Regions from separate parts of the Homo sapiens genome. Here region 2 is linked to region 1. The links are contacts of gene promoters, found by promoter capture Hi-C in blood cells and fetal thymus (Javierre and others, 2016). All regions are on one chromosome and are shown on one strand. The core of a region is centred on a gene start or on the middle of the fragment in contact, and the rest is flanking DNA. Distances in the headings are between cores, read along the strand shown.

Region 1 (6,701 bases), core at 2,267-4,766:
ATTTTCCTTCTACTTATCGTCTACCAACCAGTCTGGAGTCAGGTTTATCAGTTTGGGTTCTTTGAGGAGCAGACATCAAGATGGGATTCGATGTGCAAGAAATTTATTGGGGGAAATGCCTGTGAAGGACAGAAGGAAGAAAGGTTGAATTAGAAGAATCTTAGACTTCAGCACAAATCTAAGGAAGTTCAGCCAGGCCAATGGAGAGTCCTTGAGCCAGAGCTGCCTGTCAGAGAAGTTCCACATCTCCCAAGAACAGGCCTGCTGTAGCATCTTTGTTGTGCTCAGTCACTGGCTAGGAATGGCTGATGGGAAGTGTGGCCTCAACGGGATGCAATGCTGAATTCAGAGCATAGCAGCTGGGGCTATTCATCAGTTATGCCCACTAACGCAGGAAATCTGAATGGTGCATTATCACATCCACCACGGTAGGCAGCCTAAGGATGGATGAGGACCCAAGTTTCCAACCAGATAATACATCCTCATGACCAGCAGATATAAGAAACAGCTGCAAAAAACCCACCATTGCCTTCATTGTGGGCAAACTGCTAGGGATGCTTCCACTACATCACAGTGCTCCCTTTATGAGGGCCCAAGAATAATACCTCCTGTGGCTCAGGGCCTGGCAAAGCTATTCCTCCTGCGCAACTGGTATGTTTTCATCCTGTAGACAAGATTTTCTAGCTGACTTCTTCTTTGTCTTAACTATCAGAAAGTTAGAACCAGACTTGGGGTTCTACCTTCAGCTTTAGGTGCTTTTTAATTATTATCTTCTATAATTCCTTTACTCAGCACAACTGTTCTCTGTGAGTGATCTAAAATGCTTTTCTGAATTAAGACAAGAAATAATTACCTTAACCTAGGCTGGTACCATTTAGAACTAAAAATGCTAGATTTTAAATGCTTCAGTTTATTCTTTTTATGATAACTTTACACACAGGCCAAATTCTTTCACTCTAAACTAGTGCTATCTAGTAGAAATAGAGCATGAGCCACATGTAATTTTAAGTCTTTAGTAGCTACATTAAAAAGGTAAAACGAAATAGGTGAAATTAAGACAATTTAGTCTTTGGAAGCCTACTGTATATCTTCTACTTACATCACATCCCAATTTAAATCAGCTATACTGCAAGTACTCAATGGCCACATGTGGCTAGTGGTTTCTGTACTGGACACTGCAGGTCTAAACACAAAGACTATGAATCATGAGAGTTAGAAGAGCCTTAAGAACCACAACTGTATCTAATCTGTATTCATATTGGCTTTGATTAAAGATTTCTGAGCTCCTGGGGGTTTCTTTTTTCTTTCTTTTTTTTTTTTTTTCTCACTCCTGAAGGTTTCTGATGCAAACACTAAATCTAAGAAAAGTGAGTTCTCCTGACAGGGGTAATGACCATGAAACCCTAAGATTTCTGGAATTTTTCTTTTAATTTCTCTGTGTTTGTAGTTTTTTCTTCACTGGATCACCTTTGGCTTCTTCTGAGAAATAAAGTAATATAAAATACTCATGTACATCTACTAAGAAAGAAAGGAAACAAATAGAGATGCATTATCTAGATTACAAATTATTTAGAAATTAGAGTGTTAGAGTATTAACATAGGGCACAAAATTGAACTAATAAAATTACTTTAAAGCACACTTATTTAGATATTTTGATGCTCCTTGTTTTGGAGCCAGCTCTAAACTTTACACCTCAATTTGGGATACGAAGAGTGTTTTCCATTTGAACCAGAGCTGGAAGACCACAAATGTGGTTAGATTTCTGAGAGTTAAGAATTTGATTTTTTTTTCAGGCATTAACCTACAAAAGCCTTCATTTCCACACCTGGTGCATAGAGTAATGCTTACCTTATAAAATAGCTATGAAGATTAATAATGTTATATATAAGCTTTGTAACAGGCAAACAGTAAGTACTAAATAAATGGCACTTATCATCATTGTTAATTACAAAAGATTGTCAAATCCAGGTATTCTTAACCTGCGGTCTGCAGATCCTTGGCTCATGGATAAAACTGCAGGGGTGGAGATCCCTAAAATTGGATGGGGAAAGATTATATCTGCATTTTCATTAACCTCTAAGCAAAATTTACCATTTCTTTCCATTATGAATAAAGGCAACATCATAGTGATAGAAGGACCTGTCACTTCGCACCAACAGAAGTTACACATACTTTCATATTAAATTTCTGATGTTACGGACATCACAAAATATCTCTTACATTTATCAGCTTTTTGAAATTATAGTATTAGACCTAATCTTGCTAGATCTTATTAGTGTATTAATAAAGAAATACACGTTATTAATGTATTTTTTAAATTTCAATATAATTGGTTTCCTTTGTAATCCTATGTACTTTGTGAACTTAAAACTTAACTTCTCATTATTCTGAGAAGGGATTCAGCAGCTTCACAGGATTGCCATGGCACACACAAAAAAGTTAAGAATCCCTAAATTTTAGTCTATCTCTTTGCTTCCAGAAAGCCAACCAAGTTTGACAATTGAACACACCTGCCTGAGTGAGCCAATTCCCAAAGTCTCGGGTTTATTTTTCTGTGCGTGACCTGATAGGAAGATATTACGGTCTGGTACATGACTCCATCAATTAACCTATTTGCTGAGCTCACCTTCAGCTTATACCTGGCATCTTTCCTGAATTCTCTGTTGGGCCTTCTGAGGCACACAAAATGAGCTGACAAGCTGATTTTCTGGTATCTTCTGTTCATACACACCTGGCCCCCACTCGATGCCAGGCCCAGGATTAAGCTGGGCAGTGATTCTCAAGCCTGATCCCAGACCAGCAGGCAGGATCAGCATCACCAAGGAGCTTATGAGAATTGCAGATTTTCAGGTCACACCCTAGACTTCCTGAAACAGAAACTCTGGGGTCTATCAGTGTTTTCTCAAGCCCTCCAGAGACACACGCTTTAGTCTGAGATCCACCGTGCTAGGGAATCGGAGGTCCGTCCAATCCTGGAAAGAGAGGCTCCCATCTCCAGTATTGGTTGAGACTAACACCGCTCCTGCAACTGGGGTTGGAATTTCAATGCAGGTAGTTGCTGAGCGGGGGCCAATGAGTTGAAAGCCGGAGCAAGGGGACTTGTTTTGTTCCTGCACCCCGATTTTACTTACATTACCCGGGGCCTCGAGGGTGACTCATAGAGATTAGCCCTGAGCGTCGACCCCTCGGCGCCGCCACTGCACAGCGAGAGAAGGGGAGTCAAGAGAGACGCTTGAGTCCCTTGACTGTCCTCCCCTACGAGCTCTCTGGGAAGAGAGCCCCAGACCTGCGAACTCTGGGCCGCTCTGCGGCCGCTTGAACACTTCGCGGGTCTTCCGCCCCGCGCTAGAGGACGCACTCCGTGACGGGAATTGCGGTCTCGGCCGCCCCCGGCCTCAGGCTTTCCGGGCTCTGCTGCCTCCAGAAAACTACAAGTCCCAGGATGCTCGGCGCGGGACGGTCACGTGGGAGGGGCCGCGGGCGCGGCTAAATAGTCTCCATCGGCCATTTTGTGCGAGAAGCCGCAGCGCCGCCTCTTCTCTCGCGCCCTCGCCTCTTCCTCCGCCTCCTCCTTCGCCTCTTCCTGCCTCCTCCCGGCTTCCGCCGCCGCCACTCCAGCCTAATCCCAACCCCAGGGCGAAGCGTTTTCTTATTTATTTCCGTTTTCTCGCCACTACAGCCTCCTGACAAGGTGATCCGGGCGGGCCCCGCAGGAATTTTATCCCCTCACCGGCCTCACACTAGTATCGCATGTCCACTATCCAGAACCTCCAATCTTTCGGTAAGATCCCGTCGCCGCCGCCTCCCTCCCTTGCCCGGCGCGCATCTCGGCCTTTTGCCCGCCTGGCCACCGCCCCTAGGGGCCCCCTTTCTGCCCTTCCCGCACCCCTAGTGGGGCTTTGTCTCGGCGCCCAGAAAATGGCGACGGGGCCCCTGGCGACCCCTTCCCCGAGGACAGCGCCGGACTCCGAGCCCTCCTCTCGGAGCCCCGGCCGCGGGCCCTGCGCCACCCCCTGCCCCGTCCTTGACCCGGCTCTCGCCTCCGCTTCTGCCCCTTGAAACCTTGGCGATCCTATTTCGTGGACTCCTAGATCGGCCCTGCTACTTGCAAAGGGTATGCCGGGCCAGGGAAACCAGGGATCGGCGCCCGTTCTCTGGCAGCTCCTGGGGGCACTTAGGGAAAGATGCGGATGCAAGCCTCTGATCTGTCACTGGCCAGTGGTTCAGTCTTCTCTGCTTGCGTAGCAATTTGTTAAATTACGCCTCTTGATATATATGTAATCTACTTTTTTTTTGGCAAGGCACAGTTACGGTTAAATGATTAAGGTGGGCGTATTCGAATGTTTATGTTTTCATCAGAATGTAATCGAGATGACGCACATTTTTATAGCGGCTACAATATTAAGGTTTTCTAAATCTTTTTCTCATTAGAGGACCATATTGAACGATAACATTATTTATCTATAACAGCGTTTTTCTACAATGGACATAGCTGTTCAAATGTTTCTCTTTTTGTGAGAGTATCTTGGGGGTTTTATTAATACTCCACCCCCATCTCCATTCCTACCGGCAAAAACAGCAAAGGCACTAGAACCTTCATTGATGACTGTCTGGATTGGTAGTATAATGTATTTCTGGAAAGTACTTCTTAAAAAATATTTTTCTACTTTGGATTTTTTTTTTTTTTTTATCCATTCGCAGACCCCTTTGCTGATGCAACTAAGGGTGACGACTTACTCCCGGCAGGGACTGAGGATTACATTCATATAAGAATCCAGCAACGGAACGGCAGAAAGACACTGACTACTGTTCAGGGCATTGCAGATGATTATGACAAAAAGAAACTTGTGAAAGCTTTCAAAAAGGTAAAGGGATTAGGAAGAAAGGATTAGAGTTACTGATGCACACCTCTGAACTGGATTATGATTCACACCTTTATATCGGCGTGGATGAAAATAACTAGACCAAGAAAGTTGTTCTCATTTTTGTAATTAACATGTAAATATTTAGTTATTCTCCCAGTGTGGTCTCTCATTTTAAAAGAAGATTCGCGTTGCTTTTAAATAAATTTAAATGTGAAATATTTAGTTCTTGATGTTACACATAAAATCATTTCCTGGTTTACAAATTAATTTGGAAGGATTGTGGATTATAGGAGACAAAATCTGTTTCTCTAAATATGATCTAGCTTACTGAAATGGCTAATTCTGTTCATACGGTGAAATAAAACCTCATAGTAGTTGACTAAATTTTGTTGTATATTTATGCACTTTTCCAGAAATTTGCCTGTAATGGTACTGTGATTGAACATCCTGAATACGGAGAGGTTATTCAGCTTCAAGGTGACCAAAGAAAAAACATCTGCCAGTTTCTCTTGGAGGTGAGTGATTGGGTGCTTTATGTGTAACCTTGAGATTGCTTTTAAAATTGTATTTAAAGGCAACATGATTTGTTTTCTACTAAGTAAAAAATCATACGAATGAAGGAAATTAGGTGAAATAAAGACATGGTAGTTATTTGGAAAGCAAAGACCTTTATCTGGTTTATTTTGTCATTAGAGTATTCTGATCATTTCTTTATATACACACACAGGCTATTTCTTGGCATGTAAAGTATTCAAATACGTGTTGAATTGTTGGCTATCAGCAGTGCATGCCACAGACAACAGTGTTGCAGTAAGCTGTTGATAGTGATTCTTTTTAATTACTCTTCCATGTTTTCTTAATGAATTTTTATATTTCTCAGAGTTATTTTGCTAAATTAGATTTTATTTTACAGGTTGGCATTGTAAAGGAGGAACAGCTTAAGGTTCATGGATTCTAAAATGAACCTAAATACGTGGAGAATTTCTTGAATAGTTTTGTTCTCTAAACCCGGTTTGGCTGCCTTGTGAAATGATTCCCTGCAGTAAACGGACTTTTCATTTATTTAATCATTCAAACTTCCATTCACATCTGCATGATTACAGAAAACATGGGGTATGTAGACTAGTAACACATAAGAAAATTGCAGTAAGATGGTAACAAAACCTCATATTGTCTTTACATGTTTCCAATGGAAAATGTTTTGAGTGTTTATTGTTCAGTTTATTACGTTTCACTTGATTAAATTTTTTTGTTGTTGTATTAAACCATGTACGTTGCAGCTTAACAATAAAAAAAAATCTATGAATCTTTGTGAGCAATTATGCTCCCAAATCTAAGCAAGTAAAATACACATTTTGTCTTTCTTAATTGGAGTTCTCTCATTCTGCATATATTCCTTCTGATTAGCTTCAGCTGTTACACCCAGCGCTTAGAGGAGAACCTTATATCCAGTGCTAGAGAACCTTTGTTATTTGTAGCTTGTGTTTTTCATGTACTGATTTAAGAATAGAAGCAGGAGTAGAAATTCAGCCAGAGCCACTAGTCATGGCAAAGCAAGTAAAAGTTGTCAAAGAATTTATCAGATTGTAGTATTAAATGTTGTTAAAGAGTATGAAGTTTAACAGTATTAGAACATAGAGTTCTTTTCTGTGTTCTTATCAGTTGTTACTGAGTTGCCAACATAAGTCTATCCCTAAGTACCAGATACTGTAATAGTCTTGTGACATAAAGCATATTTAGTCACAGGCACTTCCCTGCAAGTGTAGGTTGATGGTATCACTGCCTTACAGATGGAAAACACTGGGCCTCAGGTTAATTTCCCAAGAGTGCTAGAA
Region 2 (6,701 bases), core at 1,800-4,299, 1.6 Mb after region 1:
CTGATTATGTGTAGTTGTTCTAGTAATGAAAAGCAATACTACTCAAGCTAGGCGAGAGAGAAGAGGAAGTGGTGCAATCGTGCATCTTAATACGGAGCAAGAGCCCAAAGTGGAGCACATAATATCACAGCCTTTGAAATAGATTCATCATACACTACGTTTAGAGTTTCCAAAAGCACACAATTTTCAGGAAGAACTAAGTTAAATAATGCTTCAAATCACCATATATCCACTTTTAACATAAAATTCAATTCTATAACCAATTCAGTAGAAAGCTAAAGAACGTAGTGCCAATATTCTTAAGTCAATAATTCTTACAATATTTCACTCTTTTAAAGAACTAAATCATAAAACATGATTATCCCACCAAAAAACATGAGGACATAGAATGTAAAATAAATTTTTCAAATTAAATTAGAGGCCAGCATTATTCTAAGTGATGTAACTCAGGAATAGAAATCCAAATATCGTATGTTCCCAATTATAAGCGGGAGCTAAGCTATGAGTATGCAAAGGTATACAGAATGGTATAATGGACACTGGAGACTCACAAGTGAAGGAGGGGAGAGGGATTAAAAAGACTACATATTGAGTACAGTGTACACTACTCAGGTGACCAGTGCACTAAAATCTCAGACTTCACCATTATACAACTCATCCATGTAATCAAAAACCACTTGCATTCCAAAAGCTATTGAAATAAAAAATATATATTAAAAACATATTAATTAATTAGCAGTCAGGTGCAGTAGCTCATGCCTGTAATCCCAGCACTTTGGAAGGCTGAGGCAGGTGGATTGCTTGTCACCAGAAGTTAGAGACCAGCCTGGGAAATAATATGAGACACCATCTCTACTAAAAGTAAAAATTAAAAGATTAGTCAGGCATGGTGATGTGTACCTGTAGTCCCAGCTACTGGGGAGGCTGAAGTGGGAGATCAGTTGAGCCCAGGAGTATGAACTTTCAGTGAGCCATGATCGTGCTACTGCACTCCAACCTGGGCAACAGAGCGAGACCCTGCCTAAACAAAAATTAAATAAGATAAATTTCAAAAACAATAATGGTGAAAATAATGTTACACAGCATGATGAACTTAGTGAATTAATAATCTGTTGAGGCCAGGTGTGATAGCTCACGCTGGTAATCCCAACACTTTGGGAGGCTGAGGTTAATGGATCACTTGAGCCCAGGAGTTTAAGACCAGCCTGGCACCTGGTACACAGCAAGCATTCAATAAAGCTTGGCTAAAATGATTTTTTAAAAATTAAAAAGGCCAGCCTGGGCAACATAGGGAGACTACGTCTCTACAAAAAATAAAAAATAAAAAAATAGCTGGCCATGGTGGCATGCACCTCTAGTACTAGCTAGTTAGGAGGCTGAGGTGGGAAGATGGCTTAAGCCCAAGGTAGTGAGCTATGATTGTGCCACTGTAGTCCAGCCTGAACAACACAATGAGACTGCATCTCAAAAATAAAAATAGTAATAATCTGTTGAAAATAAAGAGAAAATGCAATGGCAATTAATGACAATTAATACAATGATTAACATTTCCTGAATGTTTTTTTTTAGAAAAATGTTAAAACAGCAGTTATAATCTATATAAGTTTTAATATTATGCTCTTATTGCATACATCACATGAGAGCTAAAGTGGCACTGCAAAGGAAAAGATGTACCTTTACAATGGAGCTCTCTGGCAGCACTACTTTAATCAAATGATCAAAGTAGGTGCAACTATTAAAACCTGACACTGCATGCTTCCTGATGAGTTCAAATATGAAGTACCCAGTATCACCTATGATATGTTCTTACCAAAAAAAAAAAAAAAAGGTTCAACCTAAATCTAATGAAGCGTCCAGACCTAACCTACAGTTTATAGGAAATGTGTGGACTAGAGGAATAAGTTAGCAATACCAAAAAAAGCAAGCAGACAAATCTGGAATGTGGAATATTCAACAGGACAAACAGCCTGGACTCTCCAAGAATCAATGTAATGTGGCAAGAAAAAATAGAGGAACAATTCTAGAAAAAAACATGAGGAAAGAGACTCCAACAGTGAATTATAGAGAGCACCAAGTTGTTTCTTATAATGATGCAAAGGTGATTTATTTTTAGGAATTCCATTAATATAATCCACCTATTAATAGAGATAGGAAGAAAAATTAAATACTCCTATCTTCTGATGCCATACCAAACTCAATAACCATTAATGTTAAAAACAAAGAGGAAACTGGTAAATACTTATTTAACATGATTTTATGCCAACACCAAGTATTCATGAGAATACAGAGCACTGAACATTCTTTCATTAGTCAAAGCATTTTAACTTATACAACCTTACTGGAAAACAGTTTAGATTACCCCCTAAAGTTGAACACACACATATCCTGTAACCTACCAATTCCATTCCTACACATATCCAACAGAGAGCTTGCGCAAGTGCATCAAAATGTGTGTGCAAGGCTTTTAATAGCCAAATACAGAAAACAATCCAAATGCCCATCACCAGTGATGTAGTATACTCATGTAATAAAAATGAACTACAGGTACAGGCAACAAGGATGAATTCCATAAACATAATATGAAATAAAAGAAGCCAGATACCAAAGTATACATATCATATGACTCAATTTAAACAAAATTCAAAAGCCGGCAAAATCATGACAGAATTGGAAGTTACGGTAACTTCCTTTGGCACAAAGGGAGAGAACAGTGATCAGGAGAGAGCACAAGAGGATCCCCGGGTATGCTGGCAATGTTCTACTTAATGTTCTGTTTCTTGACCCAGTGACAGTTTATTGGGTTTTCACACTTGGCAATAATTCATTAAGCAATACATTTATGTTTTGTATGTATTTCCAACACTTCAATAAAAAAGAATTATAATTTTCAAACCAGAAAGAAAGTACAAAGTAATCTCTAAATATCTAAAAAAAATTGAAAACATATGTAACTATATATCATATTGGTGACAAAAGTACAAAGTGAAGAATTATATAAATTGCTTTTAAAACTCAGCGTTTTGACTGTACATATCATCCAGTGGGTTATATCCCAAGGGAAAAAAAGTACTTAAAATGCACTTTGTAGTTTTGTTGTTAGTAACAATACGTGTACTATTTTTAAACTATTCTAAACTCTAAGCTAAAAAAAAAGATAATTATGTTAATGTTATTAATGGCCAAGAGTGTTTTTTTTTGAGACAGAGTCTTGCTCTGTTGCCTAGGCTGGAGCGCAGTGGTCCGATCCCAGCAGCCTCCGCCTCCTGGGTTCAAGCAATTCTCATGCCCCAGCCTCCCAAGGAGCCAGGATTACAGGCGTGCATCACTATGCTCGGCTAATTTTTGTATTTTTAGTAGAGATGGGGTTTTGCCATGTTGGCCAAGCTGGTCTCGAACGCCTGAACTCAAGTGATCCACCCACCTCAGCTCCCAAAGTGCTGGTATTACAGGCATGAGCCACCGCCCCAGCCAGGAATTTTAGCTTATGAGAAGAAAAATAAAAATTGTAAATCAAAAGGTAAAAACGAATTTTAAATCTGAATTGGAGCCAGGCGTGGTGGCTCACCGCTATAATCCCAGAACTTTGGGAGGCCAAGGTGGGTGGATCACCTGAGGTCAGGAGTTTGAGACCAGCCTGGCCAACATGGTGAAACCCCATCTCTACTAAAAATACAAAATTAGTCGGGCATGATGGTGCATGCCTGTAATCTCAGCTACTCAAGAGGCTAAGGCAGGAGAATCGCTTGAACCCGGGAGGCAGAGGTTGCGGTGAGCCGAGATCGCGCCGTCGCACTCCAGCCTGGGCAACAAGAGCAAAACTCTGTCTCAATAAAAAAATCTGAATTGGAAAAGCAGAATAAACTGTGAATTTTTCTCTTTTTAAGAAACAATAGTACCTAGATCTAACCTCTGAAAAGCTCTACCAGGAAAAAAAAAAAAAAAAAAAAACCTAGAGAACCCAGATTGAGTTCTCTAACTACATCTTCTAACAAAGTAAACAAGATTCCTTATAGAAGTGGTTTCAAAACTAGGGGTTGACTATTCCCGAAACAAGCCTATGAAAGCTCACTGCCGAGAAGCCAGCAAGCTGTCAGAGACAGGAGTAGGCTCATGTCAAAGGGAGAAAGGAGCAAACTTGAAAGAGCTCCCACTGGATGGAGATGAAACAATGTAAGCATCAAAAAGACTAATGACTGCAAAGGACTAGACGATATACATATACATATATACACCTGTAAGTTCTTAACAATATAAAATCAATCTCACTAGACACGGAGATTTCTCAGGTACCAACTCTTTATTCTGAAAACTGACCTATGAAGAGGAACAATCAAGCATTTATCCTGCCTTGCAAAACAAACTCTATTTTAAGGATAACCAAATAGTTGATCAGGGAAAGATCTTCTGTAAGAAAACTTCCAACTACAAATAGAAAGGAAATTACAGAATAAGAAAATTATCATTTTGCAACTCTAAAGGATTACTACATGTAGACAATAATCGATTGATGTTAAAACTGTTAAAAAAAAAAAAAAAAAAAAAGAGTGAGGAGTTCCTGACTCACAGATAAGGGTATGAAGAAAAAAAAAGAGTGATGGGAATATTTATAATAAGGCTGACAACATCTGAGTCTAGTGATCAACTTTAACCCCTCTAATAGAGGCATATAATGTTTAATTGTCTCACTTCCTATGAAGCAGTAGGAGAAATACAGCACCAACTGTGACAAATTCCTATTTCCCCAAGCCATCCCCCCAAAAAAAAGTACTGAATCAAGGGTCCACATCTAAGCAGCCATGCGCAAGAAAGGAAAGGCAGGTGATAAAGGACTATATTAAATAACACCAAAAGGGTGCAGTAAAGCTTCTGGTATTCCAATTTGGGCCAAGACAAGGGACAATTTGTCTGTAACAAATAAATGACACTAAAAAATAAGAGACCAGGAATTAAGAGACTTAAGGGTCACAATATCTAAACGCAATCCTGGCTCAAAGAAAAATTACAAAATGACATGTATGAAACCACCAAGAAAATCTGAACACTAACTGGGTATTAGATGATATTCAGAGACTACTGCTGAATGTATTGGGTGTGATAATGAAATCATGGTTATACATTTTTCTAATCCTTTTCTGCTAGCAAAAGATATTTACTAGTAAAATGATATCATTTTATTTAAAATACTCCAGCAAGAAAGAGAGAGGGAGAGAAAAAGGGAGAGGGGGAATGAAAGCAGGACACAAGATGAAACAAGATTAGCCAGTGTTGATTGCTGGAAGCAAATGATACTACCTCATTACTCTAGCCTCTCTACTTCTATATATGTTGAAATTTTCCATAATTTAAAAAAAAAAAATTTGAGACAGGGTCTTGCTCTGTTGCCCAAGCTGGAGTGCAATAGCATGATAATAGCCCACTACAGCCTCAACCTCCCAGGGTCATGTCTCAGCCTCCTGAGTAGCTGGGACCACAGACGTGCACCACCACACCAAACTCTATTTTTTCTAGAGACAGGGTCTCCTTATGTTGCCCAGGCTGGTCTCAAACTCCTAGGCTCAAGTTATCCTCCCACCTCAGCCTCCCAAAGTACTGGGATTACAGCCGTGAGTCACCACGCCCAGCTGATAATAAAGAAATTTAATGAATGGGTTAACCTAAAATGTCTGTTAATACTCCTTTTGGCCAGGAGTGGTGGCTCATGCCTGTAATCCCAGCACTTTGGGAGGCTGAGGCGGATGGATTATTTGAGGTCAAGAGTTCGTGATCAGCCTGGCCAACATGGTGAAACCCCATCTCTACTAAAAATACAAAATAAATTAGCTGGGCGTGGTAGTGCATGCCTGTAATCCCAGCTACTCGGGAGGCTGAGGCAGGAGAATCGTTTGAACCTGGGTGACAGAGGTTGCAGTGAGCCAAGATCACGCCACTGCAATCCAGCCTGGGCAACAGAGTGAGACTCAGTCACAAAAAAAATTCCTTTCAGTTTTAGAATTTGATGGGTCTATATTAAATTTCATAAAATATATCCACTGCACGCTTCAGACTAAATATATTGGCTTAATATCAGAAATGTTTTTTAAAATTATTACACATAGAAACCACAATGATTACAGAGTGGTAAATGTGTTATCTAGGAATATAAGCTTCAGATGGTTATATTTTTCAGTAAAAAAGATACAGATGTCAATAAATGCTTCTAAATGCATAAAGGAGATCATGACCAGTTATTTTCTGTAGCTGTTGATGACAGAATAAGATGAAAGAGATTTAAATTATATTACAAGGATAGTAAAATAGATTTTTGCTCCATTTTTTCTGTCTCTTTATAACAAATTATACCATCATATTCTTCTGACATTCTTTTAATCATTCATTAAACTCTCCAGCATTAACTGCCTAAAATACACATTACTTTGCTGGCTCGGCACTGTGGGGTACAAAGGTGAGTAACAAAATGAGGTTCTATGCCATTAAAATGCTTATAGGGGCCAGGTGCAGTGTCTCATGCCTGTAATCCCAATACTTTGGGGAAGCCAAGACAAATGGATCACTTGAGGCCAGGAGTTCAAGACCAGCCTGACCAACATGATGAAACCGTGTCTCTACTAAAAATACAAAACTTAGCAGAGCATGGTGGCATGAACCTGTGGTCCAAGCTACTCGTGAAGCTGAGGCTGAGAATCTCTTCAACCCGGGAGGCA

The links. The method cuts DNA at HindIII sites, captures the fragments that hold promoters and counts their contacts. A CHiCAGO score of 5 or more calls a contact.
Region 2: a fragment that was not itself captured here is called in contact with the fragment with the promoter of EIF1B in region 1 in 13 of 17 cell types (total CD4 T cells, activated CD4 T cells, naive CD8 T cells and 10 more); the score reaches 22.2 in total CD4 T cells.

The regions. Positions count from the first base shown.
Region 1 is chr3:40,306,191-40,312,891 of GRCh38, forward strand. EIF1B (eukaryotic translation initiation factor 1B) reads left to right here and starts at 3,517. Exons shown (of 4, transcript NM_005875.3): 1 at 3,517-3,782; 2 at 4,703-4,866; 3 at 5,280-5,381; 4 at 5,780-6,234. The coding sequence starts at 3,752. The coding sequence ends at 5,824. EIF1B-AS1 (EIF1B antisense RNA 1) reads right to left here and starts at 3,508. Exons shown (of 3, transcript NR_033965.1): 1 at 3,133-3,508. LOC124906228 (a long non-coding RNA gene) reads right to left here and starts at 2,621. Exons shown (of 2, transcript XR_007095876.1): 1 at 524-2,621; 2 at 87-119. RefSeq lists an enhancer at 3,248-3,607 and silencers at 3,878-3,927, 6,448-6,701. The HindIII fragment of the contact is 2,965 bases long and covers 1,889-4,853 here.
Region 2 is chr3:41,874,155-41,880,855 of GRCh38, forward strand. The region is part of intron 17 of ULK4 (unc-51 like kinase 4); the gene reads right to left. Among named protein-coding and RNA genes, the nearest start is that of ULK4, 85 kb to the right of the region's middle. The HindIII fragment of the contact is 3,624 bases long and covers 1,238-4,861 here.